2 separate regions of the Homo sapiens genome follow, and region 2 is linked to region 1. Evidence: promoter capture Hi-C in human tissues and cell types (Jung and others, 2019). All regions are on one chromosome and are shown on one strand. The core of a region is centred on a gene start or on the middle of the fragment in contact, and the rest is flanking DNA. Distances in the headings are between cores, read along the strand shown.

What was found. Contacts are between HindIII fragments. The study calls those that stand out against the background at their distance.
Region 2: a fragment that was not itself captured here is called in contact with the fragment with the promoter of CRYGN in region 1 in 2 of the 25 tissues and cell types used here (H1 embryonic stem cells and bladder).

What each region holds. Positions count from the first base shown.
Region 1 is chr7:151,437,846-151,441,824 of GRCh38, forward strand. CRYGN (crystallin gamma N) reads right to left here and starts at 2,296. Exons shown (of 4, transcript NM_144727.3): 1 at 2,052-2,296; 2 at 151-399. The coding sequence starts at 2,072. RefSeq lists enhancers at 1-713, 1,075-1,575, 1,576-2,076, 2,788-3,324. The HindIII fragment of the contact is 10,973 bases long and covers 1-3,979 here.
Region 2 is chr7:151,699,255-151,703,440 of GRCh38, forward strand. The region is part of intron 3 of PRKAG2 (protein kinase AMP-activated non-catalytic subunit gamma 2); the gene reads right to left. Among named protein-coding and RNA genes, the nearest start is that of PRKAG2-AS2, 100 kb to the right of the region's middle. The HindIII fragment of the contact is 7,961 bases long and covers 1-4,186 here.

The DNA of each region.
Region 1 (3,979 bases), core at 1,046-3,545:
CAGCAGGTGGCTCTGGGTATAGCTCCTTCAGTCTTACAGACTTTAAAGCCGGGAGGACCACGCTCCCCGATTCCTTGCCACTGTCTGCCAGGGCTGACCCTCGGTCCCTCCAGCAGGAAGACTCAGCCTTCGGTGGACGGGCCCACTCACCATTCCTACAGGCCGACAGGAGCCCATGTGGTCACTGTGGCTGTTCCAGCGGAAGAAGTCGGGGTAGTCGCCGTGCTCCAAGATGAACTGCTGGCCCCGGAAGTCGGGGTGATTGAAGCAGACCCAGGCTCCGCTCTCCACGTGGATGGAGTTCACTCGGTTCATAAAGCCCCGGTCCTGGAAGTTGTCACAGTCCCCGAAGACCTCCAGCTTCTGCCCTGTGAAGTGCTTGCCTTCATAGAGAGTGATCTAGAAAGGGCAGGTTACAGAGCTCAGGGTCAGGGGCTTCTCTCCGTCAGCGTTGGAGGCTGGCGTCTGGGTCCCAACACCCTGGATGGAACCCCTACTCCCAGGCCCCCAAAAGCCCAGACCTGCTGCACACAGTAGGTGCCCAACACTATTTGCCAATTGGGCAAAAGAACGAACAGCTGGCAGGCTGATGCCATACACAGCTACTGTTCCTCCCCACCCTTAGGAGCTCACAGTGGGGCAGACAAATTTCAGCAGCGATTTGGGGACAGGGGTTTCCCCTTTGTCTAGGTGCCCATTTCAAAATGGGCTGTTTTCAACTTCCACTGCATTTTTAACTCATTTTTTAATTATTAAAACATAAAGCCGATAATAACATTAAAGGAGGTGTTTTCAAAAGAAGAAATTTCACCCACAACCCTCTCATGGTAACCCAGCATATATTTTGCAGAAATTCGGGTTCCTGGGATTGGGCCTCCTTCACTGGAGAGGCTGAATGGGCCGAAGCCGCGTCAGGGCCTGGCTCGGGATTAATGTTCGCAAAAGAGGGCTTATAAGTGCCACCCTGTCTCTCTGTGTTTTGTAGGTCACTCCTTTGGGTAGCAGGCATGTATCAGATCTGGAGCTCCATCACCCTGCTGGGAGTTCAGACATCGTGTCTTATAGCTACGTGGCACTCACAGGTTGTCCTTGTCCCGAAACAAAACAAAGTGAAGCAATAACAACCCGCCAGACTCATTTCCTGCTGTGGAACCTAAAATCTCAACCATTTAGTAACTCTTTGGGTTTCAAGAACTGTGGCCCTAGAAGGGTCCTGCCAGAGTGCAGTGATGTTCCCCATCACTATGGTCGCTTGTGCCTCACCAGTGTCTCCAGTTCGCTCAAAAGAACACGAGAATTGCCCTTCCAGGCCCCTTGGAGTCAGGCGTGGCCACATGCGTTCACCGGAAAGGAGGCAGACACCTTGGCGTTCTGCACCCCAGAGTTACTGGGGCCCTTTGTTACTGAAGCATCACCTGGCCCATGCAGACTGATACAGCAACACAGTCACCCCCAGACACTCTGGAATGTGGCCTTGGAGACCAAAGGCTTCATGGGAGTGGCTAGGCTAGGGGCACTGGAGAGGGCGAGGGAGAGCCAGGTCTCCCGTCCTTCCTGCACCAGGCACGGCTGGTAGAGGGCCCCTGAAACCTTCAGGGAGGTCTGGGCACCAAAGGGATTCGGGGCTCCCTCAAATCTCAACATTTTTCAGAGAACCAGCCCTAAGTGTCCCTGAAGAGACCCTGGGAAGGAAAAGCCATAGAGGCCAGCCTTGGGCAAAGAAGCCGCAGCAGTGGGGCGGAGGGCTGTGGGACAAGCCAAGCCTCCCCCACCCCAAGGAAGCCCCAGGGAGTCTGAACACCCTCCCTGCTCCTGACTGCAGGGCGAGGGGTTGGAATCCCAGAAGGAAGGAGTGGAGATGGAGACCTTCCTATCCATCCACACCAGAGAGGCCCCAGGCCAGTAGCGAGGCCACCCCATTTTATTAAGAAATTAAACCAGCTTCCCTTGGATTTGTCACCATCAACAGTGTGCACCCTCCTGCATCCCCTAGCACAGGGGGCGAAGGCGGAGCCCCACTCGGTTTCCTTGGGGTTGAGGGACGCACTCACCTTCCCCGAGCGCTGCGCCATGGTGCGCCCCGCCCCTTCCGCGGGTCCCCGTTTACACCGGGCAGCGCCCTGCTGGCTCAGCGCCGCCCCGGACAAAAGATTTGCTGGGCCGGCCCCGGAGCGTTAGTGCTGTCGGGCGTGCTAAGCCCGAGGGGCCACCAGGCGGTTGGGACCCGCCGCGGCCACCCTGTGCCACCGCGAGTGCAGCCCGCCCTGCCCGGGGTCTCCCTGTGCTCTCCGCGTTTAGCTCCCGAGCCTCCTTCCTCCCTGAGCCCTCCCGCCCAGCCCGCGGCTGCCCCTGCCCTGCCCTGGAGTGGTGGGGGGAGGAGGGGAGGTGTCTCTCTAGCCCTCCAACCTTTCTTCCCCTGCGCTGCCCCTCAGCCCTCACGCCCATCTCCCTCCCTCCCAAGGCCTGTTCCGAGCTCCCCAGCCCACTCCCCTTTCTCACCTGGCTGCAGGTAGTCTCGCCTTGGTGCCAACTTGTTTGTCTCCACGAGGATGCAACCCAAGCTTCCCCGGACAGACAGACAGCCCTTGACCGCCCCTCCCCTGGCTGCTCTGGTCTGAGCTCCCAGGTCCCCACCTTAGACCTCCGGCTCCAACTCACCCAGCTCCTGATGCACCCCCCCACACCCCACAAAACGCCAGGCCAGGTCAGGCCTCCCTCCTCCCGCTCTCTTCCTGCCTGCCTCCCTCCCTGGCACTCTCCCTCCCTGGGTCCCTCTCTCCTTGAAGATCCTGCCTAGGGTGACCAGGTGACCCGCGCTGCCCTGAGCTGGGGGTACAGTGCTCTGCCCCTTGCCTCTCTGCTGCACCAACTAAGCCACCCTGGACGCCCAGGATCAGTTTACAGCACAAAGCAGCCCCACCGCGGAGGGAGAGTTCCCCAGGGCCCAGAACGAGCACTTGGCAGACAGCAGAGGCTCAGAGATTGTGGAGTGAGCAGAGCGAACATGGAGCCCACAGGATGTGCAGCCCCCACACGGCTGGGGAGATGAGCTGGGAACACAGGACTCATGACTCAGATGGCTGGGGTGGTGGGGGACAGGCTCTGAGATCAAAGGAGAGAGGGGCAGGTGCTCCACAGGGGCTTCTGCTGGAGGGGAGGGAGGAGCTTTGGGGAGGAGTTTGGGCTGCTCTTCCTTCAAACAGTATATTTTTATGACCATTTCACAGATGAGACACTGAGGCCCAGGAAGAGGAGGTTATGTGATTCTTGGGGCAGAGGGGTGACCTTGCCTCTGCTGTGGGAGGTTTTCAAAAGTAGACAGGGTACAAACCAGAACCTGCATGTCACCCTTGAACCCAGGGACGGTCCTCCCTAGGGACGCCCCTCCCTAGGGACGCCGCCCAGCTGCCTCCACTGGCGCCCTTACTTGCCAAGCCACACATTCCAATGTTTCTCTCTGGACCTGGGCCCTGGTGGGGACATAAAATTAAAAACAAAATCTCCAGCCAACCCAGAAAACTTCTCCACGAAGGTAGAAGGAAAAAAAAACAATTTTATTATTGAATAAACTTTAAACTGGAATGCGATCTGCATCACGATCTCTCCCCTAAGAGATCGCAAAGATGGAGAGAGATCTCACTCTTCTGTAGCCAAGCAGACACAACCCACTGCATTCATGTTTTCAGGATAAAATTGCTGATTTTCTTGTATCTCTATGACTGGAGGTGGGTTTTGCAATTTGGAGTCAGGTGACAGCTGAAGTCAGGCTTCTTAGGAAACGGGGAGGGTGGGGGCACTTACTCCTTGATGTCAAGACTCAAAGAGGCTCCCAGAGGAAACATGACTGAGTTGTTAGACTGGCAAGAGGCTTGTTTAGCCATTAAAAAGATTTACACACATTTGAAAATGACAGAGAAGGAAATTCTGCAAGAAAAGGGAGGAAAGGGAAGCCTCTTCCCTTATTTTCAACAGGGAAAAA
Region 2 (4,186 bases), core at 532-3,031, 260 kb after region 1:
TCTGAAGATCTCCCACGAAGGTTGCCTCCCTCCCTGCGGTCAGGCTGCCTGCAGGCCTAGTCCCAGCAGATCTCCGGGAGATGCTGACTGCTGGCCGGATGCCTGTGTGGTTACGATCCGGTTACATCTCAGCCCCCTGCTGAGAAAGAGGCGCTAAGGTGGCCCTGGAGCCGTGAATTCACTGGGATTGAGATCATCTCGGCGACTTTATCATGAAGGCCAGCACAGGAGGCCCCTCCTTCCTGTTGGAGATGTTTAGTTTTATGATTAAGAAATGGCAAAGGGCCTTTCAGACTACTTTTGCTTTGAAATAAATCAGTGAATCAATGAGATGAGAAGTATTCACTGGGCACCGGCTGTACAGGGAAGAACTGGAAGTGGGATATGCAGTGCCTGGGCTTGGGGTAACAGAACCCAGCCTACGGGCCAGAAAGAAATGCATGAGCCATTAAGACAGTGCAGGAAGCATCTGATGGAGGACACGTCAATCTTTTCATCAATCATTGAAAGCAGGACGAGGAGGCTGGGACACAGCAAGGTGCTCAGGCCCTCAGAGGAGGCAGTGGGGAGGTTCTTGATATAGGCTGGTCTTTAAGAAGGACTGGGACTAAGATAAACTGGGGTACATAGCGGAGGAAGAAGGGAGTAGAGGGGCAGTGCTCTGCTGCCACAGGCGGCCGCAGATGGGTGCCCCCACATTGCAGAAACAGCCTCAACAGGAGCCTTGTGTACCTGCCAACATTTTGCTGCATACAAGATTAATGAAATAGTTCCACTGAAATCTGGTGATGGAGTTCTCGGCAATGTGGTTTTTGTCCTGTCATCTCATAGGAAACAGGTCTTTGAATAAGTCATTGCATCATTGCAAAATGATGTTTCCTCCCCAACAAGGGAAATCGGGGGTGACGTTTAGCAGCTCCTTCTGCAGCAGTGTTTTAAGTTGAGTGGCTAGAAAAGAAAGAGGCGTATTATACGCCGGGCTGTGTTCTGGGTGCTGGGGACAGTGAACACGACAGAGAAGAGCCCAGCCCTCGTGGAGCTCAGGTTTGTAGACTCTGGCTCCTTGGAGTATGGTCTGAGGACCAGCAGCCTGTTTGTTAGACACGCAGACCTCCAGGCCCCCACCCCAGACCTACGGAGCCTGAATCTGCCCTTTGACAAGACTCTTCAGTGACCGACAGACACGTCAGGGTGAGATACGCGGCTGTAGGCCAGGGGTTCCGAATTTTGGCAAGAATCAGGACCCCCTTTTTAACGCAGGCTTGTGAATCTGTGGATTTCTGAGCCCCACCCTCAGAGATTCAGATTTGGGAACTGGGATGGAGGTCCAGAAATTGGCTTTTCTGATGAGGTTCCAGGTAATGCCAGGCCTGCCGGTCTGGGGCTCACACCCTGAGAGCCACCTGCTGTAGGAGATCATCTGAGTTCTGGGAGAAGACTGGGGCTATCTCCGCCACGCGTCCCAGGCCCTGGAGAAGCTGACGGTAGCTTCCAGGCTTCCCCTTATGTGGCCAGGCCATAGTTCCCTTAACCTCCCACACCCATCCCCTCCACACGGGGGGAGCCTGGCCTTGTGCCGAACCCCAAATAATCCTCAGTGCTTGGCCTGCCCGTTTAGAGGTCAAACATCCATGCAGAACCCATCCAGCCTGCCCGGGAAATCCGAGCAGGGATCACACAGGATGTCCCAGGCATTTCCACACAGGCGAGACCACAGAGCATTATGCAGCCTTGATGTGCCAACTGAGTCATGCAATGTGCTGCACACACGAGCACCCAGCAGACGCCTGTCCTCTCCTCCCCTCAGCTGTCAGGCACAAGAGTCCACCCCCTTCCACCTCCCACTCCTCAGGGGCTGCCCCCCAGGGAAGCCCCACTGGAGCAGGCACCTGACCCAGACCTGAGGCCTGCGTCACTGGGCCGGGGGAGGAGGAGGTCTGAACAGAAACACTAAATTAGCCACCTTCTCCCTCCAGTCTCTACCTGTGCTGTCCAAGAGGCAGCCACTGGCCTCACATAGCTATTTCTTTATAAAATTCAAGTTCAGCTCCTTAGTTGCTGTTATGGGTTGAAATGTGTCTCCCCAAAAAGATACAATGAAAACCTCACCCTGGTACCTGTGCATGTGACCTTAGACATAGGGTCATTGCAGATATAATCAAGTTGAGATGAGGTCATACTAGGGTGGGTCCTCATCCAGTGGCCGGTGTCTTTATAAGGAGGAGGAAACGTGGACACAGATACACAGGGAGATGGAAGCTGAGATTGGAGCGGTGCATCTTTTTAAGCCAAAGAATAAGGATTGCCGGCCGGGCGTGGTGGCTCACACCTGTAATCCCAGCACTTTGGGAGGCCGAGACGGGCAGATCGAGAGGTCAGGAGATGGAGACCATCCTGGCTAACACGGTGAAACCCCATCTCTACTAAAAATACAAAAAATTAGCCGGCCTGGTGGTGGGCACCTGTAGTCCCCAGCTACTCGGGAGGCTGAGGCAGGAGAATGGCGTGAACCCGTGAAGCGGGGGTTGCAGTGAGCCGAGATTGCGCCACTGCACTCCAGCCTGGGCGACAGAGCGAGACTCTGTCTCAAAAAAAAAAAAAAAAGAATAAGGATTGCCGAGAACTGCCAGAGGCCAGGAGGCAGGTGGGGAGCAGGTTCTCCTTCAGGGCCTGCAGTAGAAACCAACCTTCCCACACCTTGACTTCAGCCTTCTGGCCGGCAGAACTGTGAGAGAGTCAGTTTCTGCTGTTTGAAGCCACCCGGTGTGTGGTGCTCTGTTGTGTATGGTAGCCCTGGGTGCTAATCCAGCTGCACTGTCCGTATTTCCAATGCTCAACAGCCAGATGTGGCTGGTGGCTACCAAGATGGACAGCATGGATACAGAACACTTCCCCCTGTGCGGGGAGTTCGATTGGAGGGTGGTGTTCTGCAGAATGCTTTCTAAGAAAGAAGCAAAGGTTAAAAGTTTAATTTTCAGAAAAAGTTGCTGGGGTAGCCCAGTTGCATCTTCCACATCCTTTACATCCCTAGTGCCGGTCCCCCAAAAGAGAGAGGAGGCCTCATCATCAAAGGGACATCAGTAGGCACACACTGACTCTCTTCCCTGACATGAGAAAGTCCACCTAGACATTCAGGCCGGAGCTTTCGTCCATGCTGACAGCAGACGGATGGGGATGCAGGTCCACACTGATCCTGAGAGTCCCACCCACAGAGGGAGCCCCCACGGCAGTCTTGCCAGGTCCCTGCCCACCCGCTTGCCTTCCTTCCCCTATCTCCTCTCCCCATCTGCCAGGAAGCCCATCAGGGCACTGCCAGGTCCGCTCTGTACACAGACAAATGCAACTTTGAAGTTTCACACTCACCAGTTGGCAATGCATTCCTTAGGATGGAGGCATTCATAGTCCCAAGAATCCCAAGTTAAAATACTCTCAGGAGAAACACCAAGTCCTGTTATTGGATAATAAGACTCTAGCATGAATTAATGATCAGAGTGAAGGCCTGGGGGGCACAGCCCCTAGGATAGCAAAGTTTTGGTTGAGGGGATGAGGTGATGGCAAGGAGGGCGAGGACCAGAGCCCAAAGGTCTCTCCTGGGAAGGGTCCAAGTTCAGGACTGTAGGTCTGGAATGCCAGAAGCTGGGGGTGATACCTCTCGCCTTCCAGTTCCGAGAACTGGAGCAAGTAGAGTGAATGTCAAACTGCCAAGGGCACGATTTTGCCTCTAAGCATCCGTCCATGTACTACTCACCTCTGCTCATCTCTCCAGGGACCCAGCCTCTATGCTGGGCTCCCTAACCTGCCTGCCCAGGGAGAAAAGGGAACACCTGGCAGAAGACACCTCTGCCAGCCCTTCAGCCTCTCACATTGCCTGCTGCTCAAATAGCTCATCTTTCTTCAAGGCCATGATGGCTTCTCTGACTCACTCATCAGCGCGCGCGAAGCAAAGAAGGAAAGAGGAAAAGCGCACCTTCTCCGTCACAGTGAATGGCACCCTGCAAAGGACTGCGGGTGCTCTAAGAAAGGAAATCTGTTTTCAGAGCTCCTGCAGCTGCTTTTCAATGTGTCTTCAGTTTATTTTACCAATGAGCAAATAAACTGGTGTTTCCCCTGCAGTGTCTTCTGCCCAGATAGCAGCGATTCTGCTCTCCGCTGTGGCCGGAGCACTGGATGGCTCCGTCAAGCCCTC